2 separate regions of the Homo sapiens genome follow, and region 1 is linked to region 2. Evidence: promoter capture Hi-C in human tissues and cell types (Jung and others, 2019). All regions are on one chromosome and are shown on one strand. Each heading gives the region's core, a stretch centred on a gene start or on the middle of the fragment in contact. The rest is flanking DNA. Distances are from core to core; before and after follow the strand shown. Region 1 overlaps LOC105371259 (a long non-coding RNA gene). Region 2 holds the start of BRD7 (bromodomain containing 7).

Evidence for each region. The method cuts DNA at HindIII sites, captures the fragments that hold promoters and counts their contacts. A contact is called where the count stands out against the background at its distance.
Region 1: a fragment that was not itself captured here is called in contact with the fragment with the promoter of BRD7 in region 2 in 1 of the 25 tissues and cell types used here (dorsolateral prefrontal cortex).

What each region holds. Positions count from the first base shown.
Region 1 is chr16:51,983,765-51,990,374 of GRCh38, reverse strand. It overlaps LOC105371259 (a long non-coding RNA gene), which reads left to right. Exons shown (of 3, transcript XR_933563.3): 2 at 3,201-3,261; 3 at 4,124-4,976. Among named protein-coding and RNA genes, the nearest start is that of LINC02911, 90 kb to the left of the region's middle. The HindIII fragment of the contact is 5,234 bases long and covers 1-4,661 here.
Region 2 is chr16:50,367,389-50,373,536 of GRCh38, reverse strand. It overlaps BRD7 (bromodomain containing 7), which reads left to right and starts at 4,549. Exons shown (of 17, transcript NM_013263.5): 1 at 4,549-4,811; 2 at 5,239-5,447. The coding sequence starts at 4,763. RefSeq lists silencers at 4,371-4,620, 4,651-5,160. The HindIII fragment of the contact is 10,865 bases long and covers 3,345-6,148 here.

The sequences.
Region 1 (6,610 bases), core at 795-3,294, 1.6 Mb before region 2:
TCTACACAACACCTTCACGGGAACACCCAGATTATTGTTTGGTTAAATACTTAGGTCCTATAGCCTAGCTACGTTGGCACATAAAACTAACCGTCGCATTTGGGAACTGGGAGATTCAGAGTCTAAACTGTGCTCACTGCCTATCTCTTTGTTCGAGGCTAGTAGCATCACCTTTCAATAGAAGGGCCAGCAAAACATGTGTGCCTAGAGGTTCTTTTGCTATATACACGATAAAGCTGCCAGGTAACCTAAGTTAGCAGAAGGACCTAAGCCAGTCCACGGATGCCTTAGGGGAGGAATGAAGCAGGTCCCAGCATGACTTTGGAGTTTGGAGTTTTTGTAACCCAGAAAGCACCTTGCCATTTGCCTCCCATAAAGGAATGACTAGGCCCAAGTCTGCACAAACCAATTTCAGCCTGACCCTGATTAAAATTTCCTTCTAGCAAATCTGAGAAACAGCTGTTTCTCCGCACGATACCCCCAGCACACCCCAGCCACCCTGTCATCCCCGGAGGCTATTCCTCAGAAGCCAGCTGTTGTGAGTGAGAAGATGAAAGGTGTCAGTCCCACTTGTAGTGCTTGTAACTTAGGGGAGGCAACAAGATTCTTCCTTTGTTTTATCCTTTCAAGTTTAACAGTTAGTCATTATGACTGGGGGAAAGAGTTATCATTTCCAGTTTCTGCTGGATGCAGTGAAGCAATTCATCAATCTCCTTAGAAAAAAATATGTGCTCCAACCAGGGTTGGTTTTCTTTGTACCACATTGTTTTTTGTTGTAGCAAGAAAGCACAGTCATTTAACAGGTTAAGTTCTGGAAGGGCAGGAGTTTCAGTTTCATTGAGTCTCCAATTTAAAGATGGTGGAGTTGAATAAAAAGAAGAAAATATTTCTGTTGTTTTAGTTACAGAAGAAAAGGTGGCTTGGATTTGTAAATGAAAGTTCTAGAGGCTTTCATTACCTTTGTTTCAGACCTTCCTCTCTCATTCAGAACATCTTCTTTTCCTTTTCTTCTGGGGGTAGGTGGGGAGGAAGTCTTGCTCTGTTGCCCAGGCTGGAGTGAACTAGCACCATCATAAGTCACTGCAACCTTGAGCTCCTGAGCTCAAGAGATCCTCCTGCTTCAGTTTCCCAAGTAGCTGGGATCACAAGTACACCACAATGCCTGTTTATTATTATTATTGTTGTTGTTGTTGTTGTTGTTGTTGTTGTTGTAGAGATGAGATTTTGCCATGTTGTCCAGGCTGGTATAAAACTCCTGGACTTTAGTGATCCTTATTCCTCAGCCTCTTGAGTAAGGGTGTCTTTGTTTAGTTCATCCAGGTGGGTTCAATATAAGGAGAAGCCTCCAAAACTTGTATTTTATGCCATGATTTATATCAATCTAAATTCTAAATGCATTTTCTTCCTTCATAGTGATTAATACATGTGGATTGATGTACCATTTATTAGCCACCAATTATCTCATTTTGAGAAAATGAGAGCTAGGAAATTTGACTGTCTTGGCCAGCTTTACCAACCAGTAGATGGTGGAGACAGATTCAAACCCCACAGCACAGCAATCCACATGGCTTCCAAAGTCCAAACTTAAGCACAATCTTGGGAAGACATTCTCAGGAATGCATCGTTTGTAAAAAGGCAGAAATTTTAAGAACTAAAGATTCAAATAGATTTAAAATGATAGCAAACACATATGTGTGTGTGTATATATATAGAGAGAGAGACAGAGAGAGAGAGAAGAAAACTTGTGAACTGATTAACTAATTTATACTAGAGTGTAAATGATTTGGTGTACTTTTGCTCCCAGAGAAAAGTTTCTTTAAAAACATTTGTTTAAATATGACTGGAAGGGCAGTATTTAGCCTGAGGAGATGCATGGCAAATGCTATAATTTATATATAACACGTACCTTACAATATAATACAGTGGCAGGTTCTTGAGAAGGACAATTTATCTCACACAAAAGGTATTACTTTTCCCATATTAAAGTCTTCAAATCACATAAAGGTTATATTTTAATATACATATTTGACAGCAAATTCTTTCAAGTTTTTATATCATGACAAATTTGGAAATACTATATTGATTCATTTATTTAATAAGCACATTTTGAGACTTATTATTGAATCAGACAATATCCTAGAAACTGAGAGAATGAAAAATCACTAAACCAAGCATTGCTTCCAAAAGAATATAGCATGGAAGAGCCTAGAGAAATTTCAGAGTTATTGGAATCCAGAGATGGGACACACTTCTTCGGACTCTGGTCTGAGGCTGTCATAGGGAAGAGAACACCTGAGTTTGGCTTGAAATATGAAGTCTACCATGTGGAGGGAGGGAGAGAAGGGCGCTCTAGGAATGGCCTGTGGGGAGGGACATTGATTAGAAAATTTCATGCTGCAGGAGATTGCCAAAACAATATGTTGCATGTTCAGCAATCTTACTGAGCACCTACTTTATACCTTGCATAGTGTTAGGCTCTAGGAATACAAAGGTCCTTCAAAGCCTCTAGGAATATAGAGACCCTACCACATGAAGACAGAATCAAGGAATGCTGGGACTTTGAGAGATCTCAGCAATGATTGGGTCCAATACTTTGCCAAGTCCTAGAAGTTATAAGGAGATGCTTCCCAGGCCCCTAATGAGACAAGAGGACACCGGACATGAGAGTGTATCAGTCAGCTTAAGCCAAGTTATACTGCAGTAACAAATGGCACCAAATCTTAATGACCTGCAAAATTAAAGATGCATTTTTCATTCATATGACATGACTATCATAAAGCAGCTCTGATTTTGTTTCCTATCTTCTTCATTCTAATTCTACTGAAAAAGAAGCTCTTTTCTGTGACATACTGGTCCCCCTTCAGAAGGAAAATAGAAGAGTGGTGGACCATGGCTTTCAAAGCTTCTGTTTAACAATAGCACCCATCACTTCTAGCTACATTCACTGGGCAAGAGTGAGTCACATGGCCAAGCCTGATGTCAGTGCAACAAAGAGACATCTTCTTTCTCCATGACCAAAAAATATTTTGAGCAGTGATGCAACTTTCATTATGGAGTTTAGGAATTCCTTATTCTGTCTTCATCTTGTACAGCTACATGATGAACCGTTTTATATATTGGATTCATGTGCAACGTTTTCTGGAAGGATAGGTGGCAAAGAATGCTAGACATCCACTAAAATCTGTTCTTCCCTTCCACAGTGTAGTCATGTCACACCCTGCACCTGGGTGTGGCTGTGTGTCCAGTTCTCACCAACTGAATGTAAGTAAAAATGATTTGTATAGATCTTGGGCCATGATTTTCAAGAAGCAGGTGTTCATTTCCTCTACCATACCTCTTCTGTGAGAGCAGCAAGAGGTAGACGATGGCAAGGCCATGGGAGCCAACATAATCACAGGAGAGTAGATCTTGGAATCACAGGGTGGAGGAAAGCTCCAGCTGTCACACCCTGGACTGTTCTGTGACGGAGAGTGAAACTTCTGTTCATTTGTTTATTTTTTAAGCCACATGCATTTTAAAGTCTATTTATGATAGCTGTTTACACTCTAGATGTGCATATAAAAATAAATTTGGTCATCTAATCTCTCCTTGTTTGGAGAAGTTAAGGAGATGATCAGGGAGGAGTACAAGTTGTCCACATTTTTACAGAGGAGAATGCCCACCCCAGCCTCTGGATTCACAGGCCAAGACTTCTGCTACTACATCTGGTTGATACCCCAAGAGCTGAACAATATGATGAAAATTCAGGATCTAAATTGCTGATTCATACCCTGAATCTGGACCAAAAATGTATCCCCTGTTTCCTGCACAGGGTTTTAAAAGAGTATGTATGAATTGTGCATGTAAATATATTAGGCTATTTCACAAGAATAGTTAGGTTCCAGCTTCTTTTGAAAAAAACAGCAGGCAACACTGAGTCCATATTCCCATGAGGGGATGATTAGCTCTAGCTCCTCCTTATTTAGATGAGACCTATGCTGTTCAGTTCACCAGGGTCTTCTCTTCACCCTGGTGGTTTTCTGCCATCGAGGCATAGAATTAGTTGTCATTTGTAATTCTTTCATGGCCCAATAGTAAAGAGGAATATAAATTTTTCTTTTTCCCTTGTCCCTATAACATACAGAATAATGAACCAACAAGAGCGAAGAACAAGTCAAAGAAAATGGCAAAGAAGATATTTCTTTGGGAAAGTGAAGAATCATCCCTCAGCCATCCCACTTCTCTTATTTATGTCACCTGTCTAAGCCTCCAAAAGTATGTGCATTTTGGACTCCTGGCCTAAGGATTCATGTGGATAAATGACTAACAAATGGGCGGAGGTCCCCATAAAAGCACTTTTCTTTTCTGGAGGCTATTCCTGATTGGAGTCAGGAGTTCTATCCTGAGTTAGAGGTGCCTTACTCAGACTCTTGCTTGCGTGAGTGTGGTATGATCCATTCCTTCAGGTTGGCCTCTCGGATGGGTGCCTACTGTGGCCATGCCACCATGCCAGAGGACTGGGTGGGCATGGGCATGAGGGTGCAACAGTGACTGAGGTCTCTACTCTCCAGAGGCAAAAAATAAACCTCAAGGAAGGCTTGAGCCACCAGGGGTCTGACTAAATAGTGATCCTATCAGCCTTATTTTTTTAATTTTTAGTTGACATGTAGTAATTGTACATATTTATGGGATACAGAATAGTATTTCAACACATGTAAACAATGTGTAGTATTCAAATCAGGGTAATTAGTGTATTTCTCACCTGAAACATTTATTATTTTTTTCTGTTCAGTACCTTCAAAATCCTTCCTTCTGGCTACTGGAAAACATAAAGTAAATTGTTAACTATAGTCATCCTACAATGCTATAGAACATTATAACTTATTCCTCCTGCCTTGCTGTCATTTTTTATCAGTTAACCAACATCTACTGTCTCCCCGCCTCCTTTCCCCATGCTCCTGTGACCACTATTCTACTCTCTGCTTCTATGAGATCAACTTTTTTAGCTCCCACATATGGGTGAGAACAGGCAGTGTTTGTCTTTCTGTGCCTGGTTTATTTTACTTACCATAATGCCCTCCAGCCTCATCCATATTGCTGAGAATGACAGGATTTCATTCTTTTTATGGCTGCATAACATTCAACAGTGCATATGCCACATTTTCTTCATTCATTCATCTGTTGATGGGCACTTAAGTTGATTCCATATCTTGGCTATCGTGAATAGTTCTGCAATAAACATGAAAGTGTAGATATCTCTTTGATACACTGATTTCAGTTCTTTTGGATCTAAACCCAGAAGTGGGATGGCTGGACTATAGGGCAGTTCTCTTTTTAGTTTTTTGAGGAAACTCCACGCTGTTTTACACAATTTATCAGCCTTATTTTCGCCTCCTCATCACACATGGCAGATAATTTGTCACGAGGGATGTCCCTCCCAAAGCCTGCCCAGAGTGGATGTGTCCTGAAATAATATTTTGAAATATGAGCTGGTATTTTTCTCTGTACTTTCTGTGAGACCCTGTGTACTCTATCTGCTAAGAACTCCACTTTCATGGATCACAAGAAGGCTAACACACAATAATAAAATGTTTTTGCTTTTCCTCTTTGTAAGAATAGATAAGTTCCAGGAGAGATTCCATGCTCCAAGACTAGAAATGAACCTGCTTGGACGTTTATGCAAACCTCTGCTCAAATGTCCCTTCCTTGGAAAGGCTTTTTCTCACCCACTCAGCTTGAAGTCAGATCCTTCCTCACCACCCCTCATCACTTTCTTCCCACTCTTTCTTGAGGTCATTGTGTGTACATTTTGCTTGTTTAATGGTATGCTCATCACTAAGTTGTGAGCCCCTTTGGGGCTGGTACCTGGTCAGTCTACTCATGGGGTTATCTTCAGTGCAAAGGGAAGAAGCTCAACAAATATTGACCGAATTAATGAATGAGGTGTGTTTGATGCTGGTGGGTCTTTGAGGAATGGCCTTGCCTTTTGCCACATAAATGCAGTTTTTAGGTGGGTGGGGTGTATGGTGGGTGTGCTGGCAATGGAAACCTCACATCAGTGAGGAGATCCAAGAGCAAAAATATCATGCTTCTTCTCAAGTAGAGACTGGGGGTGGGGACAAAACTTCCAGGGTGTACACAACCACGTGCCATGCCTGGGTCAACAGGGCAGCTCATGGTGGGGAAGCAGTGGAAGTTTCCTAGGCACTGGGGGCATGCTGGGTTTAATTCAGGAGCTGATGGGGTTGGCAGGCCTCAAGACTGTTGACGGAGCGCCTGACAGGGATGAGGAAATCTCACGGGTGCCACCTTGAAGAAATGATGACACTGGGGACTAGGGCTGCACCTGTCTCTCTGGTGCTTTCCTACTACATTGGTCCCTCTACTCAAATCCAGATAAAGTGGGAAGACAGACCAACACTGAATCAACTGAAAGTAAGCTTCCATCACTCAGTGAGATGGGAGTCTAAATAGAAACTGAGTTTTTAAAGAAAGTTACATTTCTCACACATCAGTATTTATGAATCGAAATTTCTATTTCTCACATGAACAGTTCCTCGTGGCTGTATTTGCACCACTTGCAAACCACTCATGGATTCCAAGAGTGATGCAGTTATGGGAATAAACTGGA
Region 2 (6,148 bases), core at 3,300-5,799:
CCCACCGTGTTCCTAGCACCCCCCAGCACATAGTAGGCACACAGAAAATATGAACTGAAAGAAGGAAGGAAGGTCCTGATGTTGCCTCTGTCTTATTTGATCAAGGGCTCTGAGGCTAAATGACTTTTGGGGTTGGCAGCCGTGAGTGTCATGGCTTGGGCTCGCTGCCCTCCAGTAAGCAGCTCTGAGACCGTGTGGGCAGAGGCCATGTGGCATGCCTGCGTGGATGGCGGCCATCCACCGCCTCTCTCTTTTCCTCACTCAGAGGCAGCAGCTGGGGCTGCTCCGCCAGTGACCGTGAGCAACCCTGGAAGCTGCACTGTCAACAACCTGTCATAGCGAATCACCCCAGGCCACTGATTCCCCACAGAGCTGCCTGCTGAACCAGCCTCAGCCTCTTGAGGCCTCTCCCAGCAGCACTCACAGGCTGGCATCAGGCTGGCACCAGGAAGGCCCAGACCTGCTCCTGGTGCCAAATGAGGCACTAGCTGGAGCTGCTGGGAGCCTGGGCTCAGGGGATGCCACCTCCCACCCCAGGACAGAGGGCAGGAATCCCCATGGAGTATCCAGGAGAACCGGCCCTTTCCCACCCACCGTCTGCCCCATTACACTTGGGAAGGCCTGTGTTGTGCCAGAACATTTCTCACTCCTTGCTTTTGCTAACCCTCATGCCAGCCACACAGGCTGCATGAGGCTGGCTCTGCCCATCCCTCAGAGGAGAAAACTGAGATTCAGACAAAGGAAAGCAGGAGAAGAAGTTAGTAGCCCAAGGATTCTCTCCGTCTCAGGAGTTCCCCATCCTGCATCAGTGCTGCATAAGGGGGCTTTGAGGAGTACAGCCAAACAGAGGCGAGGGGGCTCAGAAGCCCCTGATGTTTGAGGCTTTTAGTCTGTCCAGATCATAGGTCAGCACCCAGCAGCCCTCTTTCATTTGTTGGCTATAGGGGAATAGCTATAAAGGGTTCCCAGTGGGTGTCCCAGAACCAAGGCCCCTGAGTTTCGCCCAGCCCTCATCCCACCCAACCAATGAAGGCCACACTCTACCTCAGGGTCAGGTGGCAAGGACATCAGCTGTGTCCCAGAGCGTCCTCTCTGTCAGAGCACCAAGGCCTGAAGGCACCCTGGGCAACAACTCCTCAGCAGAGAGGCCAGGCTGAAGAGGGGCCACCTCCAAGCTGAGCTGCGCAGAGATTTCCTGGGCATGCCACACCCCCCAGTGGCCAGGCTTTCTCCTCCACAGACTCTCCCGGAGGGCTCCAGTCACCTCGTGTCTCCACCAGAAAGGGGAGGAAGGAGGAAGAGAATTATTATCACAACACAGTAATTATGATGTATTCATTTGTCCAACAAATATTTCTCCAGGGCCTGTGCTGAGCCCAGCTCTGTGCTAAGTGCGGGGCACACAGCCAGGAGTGAGACAGACCTAGTCCCTAACCTTGGGGACCTGGGAAGCCAGTGGACAGATGGTGGACACGCACACAGATAGGGAAGAGATATTCAACATAATTTTGGAGGCTGTAGGTGCAATGGAGAGAAACAAGGCATTGCACAGGCTGAGGGAAGAGGGGAAGGGGTGTGTGGGTTGGTGGTCCAGAAGCTTCTCTGAGGTGGTCACAGGGGAGACCAAGGTGATGTGAGGGCAGGAGCCACTCCAGGAGCTCAGGGGAGAGTGTTCTGAACACAGGGAAGAGAAGCAGGGGCTTGGGGCAGGAGGGAGGAGGGGGCAGGGGGATGGGGCTGGAAAGAGAATGAGGGCCAGATCCGGCCCTGAAAGCCAAGGTGCAGATTTGGCTTTGACTTCGAGTGAGACAGGGAGCCACAAGATGGTTTTGAGCAGGAAAGTGACATTCACAAATATTTAAAAGTTAGTATTAGCAGCTGATATTTATTGACCATTTACTATCTACCATATCAGGCATTACTCTCGGCACTCTGACCACATTATCTTCTTTGATCCTTACAACCACCCTGTTGCAGCAGCACACCCAATGACCTCACCCTGGTTCCAAGGTTCAGAGGTAGGCAGCCCTCTCAGGACATGCCAAAGTCACAGACCCTGTAAGCATCTGTGACCCCAGGACTCAAGTCAGCTCTGTCTCACTCACTCAAGAGCTGTTGGGCTGTTGGGGGAGAAGTCTGGGCACAGCTTAACTGGGGCCTCTGCTTCTGGGACTCTCACAGGGCTGTGATCAGGATGTCAGCCAGGGCTGAGGTCTCATCTGAATGTTCCACTGAGGAAGGATCCACTTTGAAGCTCACACAGTTGCTGGCAGGATTCAATCCTTCAAGGCTGTTGGACTGATAGCCTCAGTTGTAGCCGGATGTCAACTGGGGCCCAGCCTCAGGTCTTTGTCACATGGGCTTCTCCAGCATGGCAGCTTACTTCATCAAAACATGCAAGCCAAGAAGGCAAGAGAGACGGTCAGCAAGTAAGACTGAAGTCTTATGTATCCTCAACACAGGAGTGACGTCCATCATCTTTGCCATATTCTATTGCTCTGAAGCCAGTCTCCAGGCCATTCTACACTCACTGGGAGGTCATGAATGGCAGCAGGCAGAAATCTCTCAGGGGAGTCTGCCCGAACCAGGACCGTGCAGCTCAACTAGCATTTTCTGGTGCCTTCTATGTGCCAGGCATGGTATTAGTGCTGAGAATTTAAAACTAGATGAATTTGGGCTTCCACTTCCAGGAACATTTTTCTGGGAGGTGTTTTCTGCTACGTACTCTTATTCACTTTCCATTGATGTGACCACTTTGTGACCTATGTAGAATCACTCTTGAGAGGGTAGGGAAATTACTAACTTGATAGTATGGATGAGTTCACCAGACCTTTTTCCTCTGAGGGGCATTTGGACAGTAGTAGTCACTGTGCTAGGCACTGTAAGTACCAAGGAGGTACCCAGGGTAATGAGGAGCAGACAGGTAAACCCACAGGTTGAGCCTGGAGCAAGGCAATGCCACAATAGAGGCCAGACCCACAGTGGGAGTTGGCATAGTGGTTCTTAAAGCAAAATAAGTTACAGACAGTGGATGAAAAGCTGAAACCAAGCTTTGCCCTATGCTTAGGGGGCCTAGGGGGCCTAGCTGGCTTGATTTCAGAGCAGCAGAAGGTCTCTTCCCCAACACAACCCCTCTTCCCACACCCTGATCTCTGCCTCACGGACACCAGAGAGGCTTGTTACAGGGAAATAATAGACACACACTTTTAGCTTTCATGAAAAAGCAACTCTCTTCATTAGAAGAACCTCATCTTCCCTGGCTAACCATAGAAGTCTGGCAGGAGCTGCCAATCACAGACTCCACTTCTCTTGGCCAAGGGGGTGAGGGGGTAGATTTGGCATCCAGGCCGAATCAATCTCCCATCCCCTGTCCCATAAAACATGTGACACAAGCCAAGCCAATCAGAGTCCTTCCCTGGGACTGTTTTCCAGGTGAAGCTGACAGGAAGAGATCTTTTTCCCAGTTGGTCAGGACACTATAAAGAAGAGGCCTCAGAAGCAGATGGTGGCCATGTTTCCAGCCATATAGGAAAGAAGGGGGGAGATGGAGACCGATATACAGAGAGACAAGAGAGAGAGCGAGCTGGCATGCCAGTCAACAGCATTACATCCTTGGTTCCTGTCTTCCCTCTGGCAAGCTTTATTCTTGCCCTTTCTAGACATGTAAACCAATAAATCCCTTTTTATTTACTTGAAATAATTCAAATTGGTTTCTATTAGTTGCCAACAATAGGGTCCTAAAATATAAGCCTATAATTTCACCACTGAAGTTCAAGGTAAAGCTACAAATCTTCCTGGGAGAGGTGATTCATGGGTCTAAATTGTTACTAAAGTATAAATGACTGATAACAGATCCTTTCTTAAGAGGAGACTATAATTACGAGCTTATCTGAAAACAGACAAAGCACCATACAGCTAGAAGTAAAGACAGTCAAAACGTCTGGTAACCTTCACCTATCAGCACATAAGTTTTTTTTAAGATTAGAATCTTCAGTCACCAATGTGCTGAGTTTGCTGGGTCTGGCACCCAGTATGGGGTTCAGTCAATATCGTAAAAGGGAAGAAACAGAAGCAAGGGAAAGTGGAAAGAAAGGAAGAGTGGGGGAAGGAGGAAGGGGAAAAAAAGAAAAGAAAAAAAGAGGGAAGGAGACGGGAAGAGGAGAAGGAAGGGTGATGAGGGAGGAAGAAAAGAGAGAAGGAAGGCTTGAAGGGAGGCAGTAAGGAGGGAAGAAAGAAAGGAAGGAAGGAGGAAGGAAGGGAAGAAGGGAAAGAGAAAGAAAGAGAGGGAGGGAGTAAAAAGAAGGGAGGGAAGTGGAGACGGAGGGAGAGACACACAGAGACAGAGACAAGACAGACAAATTGAGGGGAAAGGGAGGAAGGAAGAAAGACGAGAGTCTGAGCGGTGGATCCCGCCCCGGCCCCGCCCTCGGCCCCGCCCCCGGCCCGCGAGCTGCAGCACCACCTCCGGTCGCCAGGGGCCGCCACCCGCAGCCGCCGGCACCCTGTGCGCGCGGCGGGCCTTCTTTCCCGCCTCTGCGCCGGCCGCGCGCCCCCCCCGCCGCCGCTCTCGGGCTCCGGCCGGGTCTCGCGCGCCGTCTTCTCGAGAGGGGCATCGCGCCGCCCGGCGCGCGCCGCCCCCCTGCCTCGCGGCGCGGGGTCTCGCGGGCCCCGCTCCCGCCCTCCGCTCGCCTGGCCCGGACCGGAAGCGGCGCCGCACGGCCTGGGCCTGGCGCGGGGGGCGGGCACCGGGGCCCGGTCGGACATGGGCAAGAAGCACAAGAAGCACAAGTCGGACAAACACCTCTACGAGGGTGAGGAGGGGGCCGGGGTGCGGGCGGCGGGCCCTCGGCGGCTCTGCCGGGCTTCCGCTCTTTCCCAGTGGCTCCGGGGCGGCCCGGGGCCCTTCCTTCCCACGGCAGGCCCAGGCCGGCGAAGGGGGCGCGTCCTGCCGGAGGCCGCGCTGCCCCCCGTGCGGCCGCGGCATTCGAACCCGGGTCCCCCTGGTCCGGTGGGTCTCTGGTGGGGAGACGTGAGGCGGGCCCGGGAGGCCTGGGAGCGTTCGGGGCGGGCGGCGCCGCCGCACCCCCGGGCCGGGGTCCGTCATTCAACAGGTGCTTCGCGGAGCGCCCAAAGCCGCCTCGGGCTTGCTGCGCCTTGGCGCTCTGCATCCTTAGCACTCCCTGGAGAGCCCCGATTTTAATCGACGCGCTTTCCTTTCTTTTCTTTTCTTTTTTTAAGAGTATGTAGAGAAGCCCTTGAAGCTGGTCCTCAAAGTAGGAGGGAACGAAGTCACCGAACTCTCCACGGGCAGCTCGGGGCACGACTCCAGCCTCTTCGAAGACAAAAACGATCATGACAAACACAAGGACAGAAAGCGGAAAAAGAGAAAGAAAGGAGAGAAGCAGATTCCAGGGGAAGAAAAGGGGAGAAAACGGAGAAGAGTTAAGGTACAAGTGGTTACATTGCTTTGGCTTTGCGGACGGCACTGCCTCTTCCAGGTGCCAACCTCATTTTATTTTCTTTGTATCTGGGGAAAACAAACGCCTCTAAGATCTGGCTCGTTTGAGGAGGAGCAGGACAGAATAGAGACATGAATCATCTATGAGTTTCAGCAAGTCGTTTTTGGATTATACTCTTAGGCAATTGTACTCGCACATCAGGTGAGGAAGCAGCTAAGTCCAAATTTTGAGGAGCTGCTTCAAAGAATGGTTTTTCCATCTAGGCAGGGTAAAAAGTCATGCTCAAGAAAGCCTCAGTGTTCAAGGATTGTCAAAAATAGTCATTTCAGAAGCGAGTGGGATCTACTGGGGTTTAAAGTTTGTTCTGAAATAAATATTATAATGCCAAATCTGTAATGAGCAACTTTAAATCTTTTAAAACAGTGTTGTAGTGTGTTGAGAAAATTTGGTCAGAAACCTGTAATGGAGATTGATATTCTTAACCATTTGCATTTAACAGAAAAGAATGAGTAGCTACCATCTTGGTTTGAAAGCTGGGCAAAATAATAATTAATGGCTGGGCCCAGTAGCCCACACTTGTAATCCCAACACTTTGGAATGCCGAGGTGGGAGGATTGCTTGAGGCTGGAAGTTCGAGACCAGCCTGGGCAACATAGCAAGGCCCTGCCTCTGCAAAATAAACTACAAAA